Regions from separate parts of the Homo sapiens genome. Here regions 1 and 2 are each linked to region 3. The links are contacts of gene promoters, found by promoter capture Hi-C in blood cells and fetal thymus (Javierre and others, 2016). All regions are on one chromosome and are shown on one strand. The core of a region is centred on a gene start or on the middle of the fragment in contact, and the rest is flanking DNA. Distances in the headings are between cores, read along the strand shown. Region 1 overlaps CD81-AS1 (CD81 antisense RNA 1). Region 2 overlaps CD81-AS1 (CD81 antisense RNA 1). Region 3 holds the start of SLC67A1 (solute carrier family 67 member 1).

Region 1 (2,700 bases), core at 6-2,505, 570 kb before region 3:
TTTGTCTTCTGTTGATCGGTCCAAGTCAGGCATTTTATTGGGCCTTTGTCTCCCAAAGCTTGTTAAAATCCTAACTCTTGGAGCAGTTGGTTTTTCTGCCCTTGCGGTGCTCTGAATTTCTGGATCCATCTCTCTGTTCACTTTCATCTCTGCTTGTAAGCTGGGCCTTCTTTCTCAAGCTGGTCTCCGTCTCGTGTTGCGGGACCTAACACAAAACTCGCAATGTGGTGTTTTCCCACTTCGCCCCTTATGCTCCTGGCTGAGCCTTCTTGTATTCAGCCTGCCAGGTCACCAGGAGTGATTTTAGCAAGTTTGCTGCTCCAGCTCCACCAAGTCCCCATCACTCGGGCCCCCGGTGCCTGCTCTCTTGGCAGCAGCTGGGTTTGGGGGTTCCGACTGCTACCACAATACAGCCTGGCCTGTCCTGACTAATACAGAAGCAGGCTCTGTGAAGGAGGGTGCTGCCATAAGAAGAAACGCAAATTAACACGTATCTACACAGTCTCCGTGGTGCACAACAGTCAGCTTTTCCTGCTTATGTGTCTGGGCTCTGCTTGACTGATCTTGGCTGGGTGCATTCCCAAGACAGCAAGTCGTGGCTGGCCTCGGGCACAGGAAAGGGCGAGAGACTGGGGTCACAGATACAATCTAGCATAGGGGGACAGATAACTCAATGTTTAAATTCATAGGGTGCTGGACCAAGAGAGGGCATATCCAAACCTGATGTGCTCATCCATCGGAGATGCTGGGTCTGGAGAGGGTGTAGTGACTGGGTGGACTTTGGCAGGTCAACAGAGGGGTGGATGGCGGAACAGACGATACCATGTGTTCACCACACTGTTTCTTCCTCCTAGGCAAATGGAAAGACTGCATTTCCCAGTCACCTCTATGGTTAGTGTGGTTGCATGAGGGTCATGTGACCGAGTTCTGACCTGTGGGATATGGGAGGAAGCAACGTAAGCTACTTCCCAATCGCCCTTCCCTTTCCAAGGTGACCTTACAGGACACACGTTCCCAAAGTCAGCTCAAAGATGAAGAGTCACTTGACCACCATATGCAAGTGAAAAATAACCCCGAGACCTCAGGGGGTATTTGTTAACTGCAACGTAGCCTACTTTCAAAGCATGGTTCCTGGACCAGCTGCATCACCCGGGAATGCGGTAGAAATGCAGATTCTCAGGCCCTGCCCAGGCCTCCCAAATTAAGGATGCTGGGGTGGAGCCTAGCAATCTGCGTCTAAAAAGCTCTCCAGGGCAATCTGAAGGCTGTTCCTGGCCAGGCACAGTGGCTCATGTCTGTAATCCCAGCACTTTGGGATTACTTGAGAGGACCTTCTTGCCGTGTCCTCACATGGCAGAAAATGAAAGGGCACACAGGGGGATCGAGGCGGGTGGATCACTTGAAGTCAGGAGTTGGAGACAAGCCTGGCCAACATGATGAAACCCCATCTCTATTAAAAATACAAAAATTAGCCAGGTGTGGTGGTGCATGCCTATAGTCCTAGCTACTCAGGAGGCCGAGGCAGGAGAATTGCTTGAACCCAGGAGGTGGAGGTTGCAGTGAGCCGAGATCGTACCACTACGCTCCCGCCTGGGCGACAGAGCCAGATTCCATCTCAAAATAAATAAATAAATAAAGGCTGTTCCAACTATATAGGAGTTCAGGATACTGGCAAGGGTGTGATTAAAGTGAAGGACCAGGTGTTCCCAGCTGTGCAGGCAAAGAAGTGCAGTGAGGAAAGCATGCAGTACGGCTGCGTAGAGCACTCCCAGCAAAGCAGGTGGGCAAAGCAAACACACAGGGCCTGGAGGTGTGGAAGGGGTGCAAGGTTTGGACTTTAAATCTCAGAGAGGAAGCAACCCAAAATTAAAGAGACCCCAGGGATGGTGATGGGCACAGTGGGGCAGATGAAGTTCACTGGACAGGGGAGGTCAGGGGCCTAGGGGCCGTGGTGTGGGGTTGCTTGTCCCAGCTGGGATGGACACAGGAATTGGGCTGGAGAAGATGTACATGAGGTGGTCTTGTCTAAACCCTGCACATCCAGCTCCAAGCATGCAGGTAAATTCCCCCGGAACCAACTCCCATGCCAACGTCAGACTCGAACAAGTCCAAGGATGCTGAGTAACAGTCAGGGTTCTCCAGAGAAACCGAGTCAGTAAGATGTGTACATACACACAGAGAGAGATTATTGTAAGGACTTGGCTCACACAATTACAGAGGCTGAGCAGTCCCAAGATCCGTAGTTGGGAACCTTGGAGACCCAGGAGGACTGATGGTGTAAGCTCCCGTCTGAAAGGCAGCAGGCTCAAGACCCAAGGAGAGCCAATGTTTCAGTTTGAGTTTGAAGACAGGAAAAAACCAATGTCCCAGCTCACCCAGGTAAGAGGACTTCCCTCTTATTTGTCACGCGCCTCTGTGTGAAGAGACCACCAAATAGGTTTTGTGTGAGCAATGAAGCTTTTTAATCACCTGGGTGCAGGCAGACTGGGTCCAAAAAAGGAGTCAGCAAAGGGAGATAGGGGTGGGGCAGTTTTATAGGATTTGGGTAGGTAGTGGAAAATTACAGTTAAAGGGGGTTTTTCTTTTGTGGGCAGGGGCGGGGGGGTTACAAAGTGCTCGGTGGGGACCTTCTGATACTCATTGACCAGGAGAAGGAATTTCACAAGGTCAATTGATTAGTTAGGGTGGGGCAGGAACAAA
Region 2 (3,039 bases), core at 451-2,950, 540 kb before region 3:
CCAGCATTGGGGATTACAATTCAACATGAGATTTAGGCAGGTACACAGATCCAAACCGTATCAGGGTGTGGCCTAATGGTGATACACTGGGGAGACTTGGCCTGTGGTCTTAGTCCATCGTGTGCTGTTAGAACAGAAAACCACAGACTGGCTAACTTATTGGCCCCTGGTCCTAGAGGCTGGGAGGTCCGAGATCGACAGGCCACCTCTGGCAAGGGTCTTTGTGCTGCCTTATCCCATGACAGAAGGGCAAAGAGAGGGAGAGAGAGACAGCCAGAGAGAAGGGGACCAAACTCATCCTTCTGTCAGAGCCCGCTCCCACGACAATGATGTTAGTCCATCATGATTACAGAGATGGGGGACACATTCAGACCACAGCAGCCCCCTCAACCCGCACACACTGCACATTGAGGGGAGGGCCGGGAGACTGGAAGGAAACATCAGAGTCTGGAGAAGACCACCAGGATCACCAGGGCTATGCTCTCACCCGGCACCCAGCACCGAGGGGCTCATGGGAAACAAGACGGGTCTCTCGGTGCACGAGTGCTGGGCACACATAGTCCACCGTGCATCCTGGGCTGATGATCTGGACCCTGGTCCTGTGCAGCCCTGGGGTGGGGCTCCAGGCTGAGATCAGCCACGTCTGGGGGAGGAGACAGTGTTCCCAGTCTCACCTTGCCCCACGGACTCTGACAGGGGTTGAAGAAGCAAGGAGGCTCCAAGGACTGGGGAGGGGGAGTCTGGCCGACGATCTAGGAGCATCAAGGCGCCTGCTCCCTCTCGGCGTGGCCCGGTCCTGTAGGTGGTCAGTTATGCAATGCCACTGCCTTCCTACCTCACAAGGAGGGTGGGTGGACTCAGAAGCCAGGCCCAGGCTTCCTTCTTGGCTCAGGCAAGGAACATAGGGGGCTTTGAGCTTTGCTTATTCATTTAACAACTGAACCCCTAGTCTGTGCCAGGCCCCCATTTAAATGGTCCCTGGGATACAGCAGGGTCCAGAATGGGCCCAGACCCTGCCCCCATAGCTGACCTTCTGGAGAGCCTGAGGAGTGAGGGGTGCCCTCCAGGCACGGCAGACGGGGCAGGCTCTGCATTCGGGGGCTCCAGCTGCTTTCCCACCACCCACCCACTCCACCCGAGCCCTTCTGGGTCAGCTGGGCTCCTGGCTCTGCCCGCCTGGGGTGCAAGACGCCAAGTTCCTTCCTGGACAGTGAGAGAACCATGCCAAAAAGAAATGAAAGGAAGGCAGACGGCGAGATGAGGGAGAGGGTGGGCACCCAGCCAGGGACCGCAGAGACGAGGAGGAGGCACAGAGACCCACTGTCCCCAGCCACTGCCAGTGAGGCTGGCCCAGGGCCAGGGGCTGGGCGTCCCTGGCATGCATGTGGCTCCCAGTGCCCCCACGTCCAACAGGAGTGGGGCGGCCCCCTCTTCTGCCACATCCCCATCCCACCTCCCATTCCATTCACTGGTCTCATTTTTAAGTTTTTCTCTCCCAGTTATTCAGGATTGATTTGGAGAGCAGAGCGATGGCTGCAGGTGGCTCTTCATTTTCCTTCACCTAAGAAGCAAACCATCATCCACCCCAAGCTTGTCTCTCCAGCCTGCCCCCTACATGAGGACAACCTCCCTCCTCTTCCACGGTGGCGCTGTTCCCACTGGAGGCCCAGGCTTGGCCATCCGTTCATTCTTGGAGTCCTCAAGAGATTGTCAGCTCTGCAGTGGGGAGCAGCCGCTGTCAAAGACCCTGGAACTTCCTCCCTGCTGCGTCCACCAACCCCCACTGCCCGCTGGGCACTCCCAACCTGAAACAAGCTTGCTCGCTGCAAAAGCCTCACCTCTGACCCAACTTCCCACTCCCAGGATACCCAACCTGGCCTTCCCTCTGGATACCCCTGTGGGCTCCCCTCTGCTGATGGGTTCCCCTCTCCAGCTGTGGCTTCCCTCTGCTGATGGGGTCCCCTCTCCAGCTGGGGCTCCCTCCACTGATGGGGTTCCCTCTACAGCTGTGGCTCTCTCCACTGATGGGGTCCCCTCTCCAGCTGGGGCTCCCTCCACTGATGTGGTCCCCTCTTCAGCTTGGGCTCCCTCCACTGATGGGGTCCCCTCTTCAGCTGGGGCTCCTCTCCACTGACAGGGTCTCCTTTCCATCTGGGGCTCCCTTGGCTGATGAAGTCCCTTCTCCAGGTGAGGCTGCTCTCTGCTGACAGGGTCCCCTCTCCAGCTAGGTCTCCTCTCTGTTGATAGGGTCCCCTCTCCGGGTGGGCTCCCCTCTGCTGACGGGGTCCTCTGATGGGGTCCCTACTCCAGGGGGGCTCCCCTCCATAGATGAGCTCCCCTTCCTGGGTTGGGTGACCCCTCCGCCCTATCTGTGTCTGCAGGTTGGGGCTAGGCAGTGCTGGCCAGCATCTGACAACCTCCCCTTTCTGTTCTTGGGCACTGCTCACTTATTCAGGTCTCAGCCAGGCAGCCCCTCCAATGGTAATCTTCAGAGTCCCCTTCAGCAACACAGCTTCCCCTCTGTGGCCCAGCTCATGCTGAAGTAAACAAGGCAATGTCATTAACGGCTGGTATCAGCTTGTACGGGGAACCAGTGGCCCCAGAAGCCTCTGGGGAGGCCCAGGCTGTGAGGATCAGGGGTCCGGAAGAGCCTCTAGAGCGGGAGAAAGAGGCCTCAGGGGTCCCTCCTCACAGGGGATGGTGACAACACGGTAGGGAATGGAGGGGTCAGGGCTGGGTCCAGGACACGGTGACCCTGGCCAGAAAAGGCCGGGCCTGGCTGGCACCCGCACGAAGGGAACGGAGCCAGTGTGGAAAAGCAGGCCCGCGTCCTCTTCTGCACTCCCAGCCCCTTTAAACTACACACAGCTTGTAGGAAGGGGATCAGAGGCCCCTGGGCGTCCCATGGCTATGCTGCACCTGGGGACATGAAGCCTAGGGTAGCTCAGCCAGCTCTGGTCACGGCTGACAGACAGCCTCACCCCAACAGCCTCACCCATCCCTCCTCAGGGAACAGGGTCCTAACAAGCTGCTTTCCCC
Region 3 (2,815 bases), core at 37-2,536:
GGAAAGTTAGAGCAATATTTTTAGGTTTGATGTCTGGCTGTGTGGAAAGGCGGGGTTCTGATTTCTATGACCTGCCCTGGGGAAAATGGATTCCAGTTTCTAAGGCCAGCTTCGGGGAAAATGGCACTGAGAGACAGGAGAGCAAGAGAAGGTCAGAGAAACACTTTTTCTTCCGAAGCTGCTTCTGAGGCCTTCATTTTGGGGTATTGTTTTCTGATGCCCAACATATCTGAGCTGCTGAACGAAGGGTAGCTGCTGAACCACTCCCACGGTGACTTGGAATGGCTTAGCCAGCCGGCCTTGGGCCACCTGGCTCTGGCCCCCCTGCCCACCAGGACTTTGGCCGGCTCTCGCTCGCCTCTGCGATGTCCGTCCCACCCTGTCTCACCCCTGCAGTTTTCTGCTCTGTGGAGCGATGATTGACACATGGCAGGGGGACACTGGTTTTGACATTTGAGCCTGTGCCCAGCCCTTGCCTGGGGAGGAGGTGGGGCAGGAGTCCTGAATGAGCATCTCCCTACTTAGTGACAGTCAGGGGCACGGAGAATGGTGCCCAGGCCAAGGGCAGGGCTTGGGCCAAGTGTGCGCAGCGTGGGGTGTGTGTGCTCCAGCGGCTCCTGCTGCGGAGGGCGGCATGAGGCTTGTTTACCTGTGTGCTGGCATCTCTGGTGGCCCCTGCAAGGGTGGGGAAGTGGCAGGCAGGGTGAAATGGGGAAAAGTGGGCTCTCAACTGCTCCTAGCAGCCTCCGGGTCTGGGGAGGGAAGTGAGGAGGGGCCCAGAGCTGTCTCCTGGTCACTCTTCTGGGGCTCTGTGCAGACCTTTGGCAGGGCCAGGCTACACCACACCCTCTACAACCTCCCCTGACTTCTTCCCCTAACCCCTCACCACCATTCCTCCGCTTTTCTCTCCCCGCCCCTGCCTCCCCTCCATTCTCTCCTTCCCTCCACCTCCCGGTCCCATCCCCTGCCCACACTGCCCCTCCTCAGGCCCAAAGTGGACACCGGTGCTGCCTGAGGGTCAGAGTGTCCACCTCCAGCAGCCCGGGCACCGGGCAGGATTCAAGCTGGAGGGGGCTGGGGCGGGCGAAGCCGGGCACGGGGCGAGCCCGCTGGTGGGCGGGGCAGGGGCGGGTCCTTCGAGGGGAGGGGCGGGCTCGGCCAGTGAGAGCGCAGAAACCGTGGCACGGGCGCTCCCGGAACTGGCGATTGCAAAGCGCGAGGGCTGGAACTCAGACCCAGAGGGGCGGTCCCTGTTGCAAGTCATCTCCCGAAAGGGCGGGGCCGGGGCTCATCCCGGAAGGACCGGTGTCTAGGTCACCCTGGAGCGCTCACCCCACCGGCACCCGTGCCCAAGCCCGCCCCTGCAAAGGCAGGTACTCGAGCACACTCCGGAGAGGGCGGCCTCTGAGCCCCGAACCCCGAACTCCGGCGCAGCGTCGCACCTCTGCCCAATGAGGTGCCCCTGACGTGCCTGCTGCGGCTGCCCTGCTCCCCCCAGCCTCCCTGCATCCCGGGATGGGGGAGGGCGCCAGGCGCAGCTCCCGGACCCTCAGGGGTCTCCCCGCCCTACCCCACCAGCCTGGGTTCGGTACCTCGGGGCTCAGATGTGCAGTCAGCTGTTAATGTGGCAAAATTTGGGGAAGTCCTCTGCAGCCGCAAAATCCAGTTCCCACCAGTTGGAGGCCGGGCGGGGAAGGGTGGGGACAGACAGCACTCCGCTGTGGGAGGTAAGGCAGAGCTACTGGGGAGCCTGGAAGGCTGAGCTATGTCTCCCCTACGCAAGACCATTCCAGAAGCCCCTTGGAGCTCTGGCTGCTGGCCACAGGGGAAGGTAGACCTTCCCTGAGAGCTGCACTGTGTTGGGGACAGGGCCACTGTGGGCCTACGGAGGGCCTCCAGGCACAGGGACCCACATCAGCCCTCTGGCCACAGAAGGCGCTGATGATTTGAGGTGGACTCAGCCACCACTCCGAGCCTCTGCCTCCCTCTAAAAGTGGGGCATGGCACATTCCTGTGTCAGGCAACCAGGCACTGAGCCTGGCCCACCTGCAGGGGTCGGGGGGAGCAGCTTGTCCCTGTCTCCCCTCCCCGGGAGGCTGTGTGCCTGGAGACCAGAGCTGTCAAAAGTGGAGGAGGGGGACCCCCTGATGTGTCCTCTAAGGTCCAGGTAGCAGGAGAGCTCCACTGGGGAGGGGGTCCTGCAGTGCTGTCCTCTCTTGCAGGCAAGGCCAGGCGGGTGCTGCCTGGGACCCAGTGACTCAGCACCCCTGCCCGGATCAACTGGACTTTTGCCCCCTGCTCCGCCAGCCTCCTGCTTGGATCTCTCCTGGGTCTCCCTGCTGCGCCTGTCCAGGATGCAGGGAGCTCGGGCTCCCAGGGACCAGGGCCGGTCCCCCGGCAGGATGAGCGCTCTAGGCCGGTCCTCGGTCATCTTGCTTACCTACGTGCTGGCCGCCACAGAACTTACCTGCCTCTTCATGCAGTTCTCCATCGTGCCAGTGAGTAACACACCCCAGCCCCTGCAGCCCCAGCCAGGGCTGAACCGCTGTTCCTCCTGCCCTCCATCTGGGCCGTCGCAGAGAGTGGGGGTGGGGGTTTCATGCTGCCAGGGCCCCTCCCAGTTGGGACTCATGCCACGCTTAAGCTGAGTAAGTTAAGGACTCTGCCTCTGGACCCCCGTCAGCACATCCTGTGCTCCAGCTTCAGTGCCAGCCCCGGGAGAAGCCATGGGGAGCCACCCCACTTCCCTCCTGGGGGCAGCACCTCCTCAAACCTTCCTAGCGCTGTTCCTCCTGCCTCTCACCCGGCAGCCTTT

Evidence for each region. The method cuts DNA at HindIII sites, captures the fragments that hold promoters and counts their contacts. A CHiCAGO score of 5 or more calls a contact.
Region 1: a fragment that was not itself captured here is called in contact with the fragment with the promoter of SLC67A1 in region 3 in 2 of 17 cell types (total B cells and naive B cells); the score reaches 5.8 in total B cells.
Region 2: a fragment that was not itself captured here is called in contact with the fragment with the promoter of SLC67A1 in region 3 in 3 of 17 cell types (M0 macrophages, naive B cells and non-activated CD4 T cells); the score reaches 6.9 in M0 macrophages.

Annotation. Positions count from the first base shown.
Region 1 is chr11:2,328,843-2,331,542 of GRCh38, forward strand. CD81-AS1 (CD81 antisense RNA 1) reads right to left here. Exons shown (of 3, transcript NR_108080.1): 2 at 721-932; 3 at 1-461. Among named protein-coding and RNA genes, the nearest start is that of TSPAN32, 28 kb to the left of the region's middle. RefSeq lists an enhancer at 1-238. The HindIII fragment of the contact is 2,399 bases long and covers 57-2,455 here.
Region 2 is chr11:2,365,188-2,368,226 of GRCh38, forward strand. All of the region lies in intron 1 of CD81-AS1 (CD81 antisense RNA 1), which reads right to left. Among named protein-coding and RNA genes, the nearest start is that of CD81, 11 kb to the right of the region's middle. The HindIII fragment of the contact is 225 bases long and covers 1,589-1,813 here.
Region 3 is chr11:2,900,992-2,903,806 of GRCh38, forward strand. It overlaps SLC67A1 (solute carrier family 67 member 1), which reads left to right and starts at 1,287. Exons shown (of 11, transcript NM_002555.6): 1 at 1,287-1,373; 2 at 2,223-2,498. The coding sequence starts at 2,355. It overlaps SLC67A1-AS (SLC67A1 antisense RNA), which reads right to left and starts at 2,584. Exons shown (of 3, transcript NR_169305.1): 1 at 2,468-2,584; 2 at 1,593-1,718. RefSeq lists a silencer at 1,419-1,548 and an enhancer at 2,474-2,815. The HindIII fragment of the contact is 10,715 bases long and covers 1-2,815 here.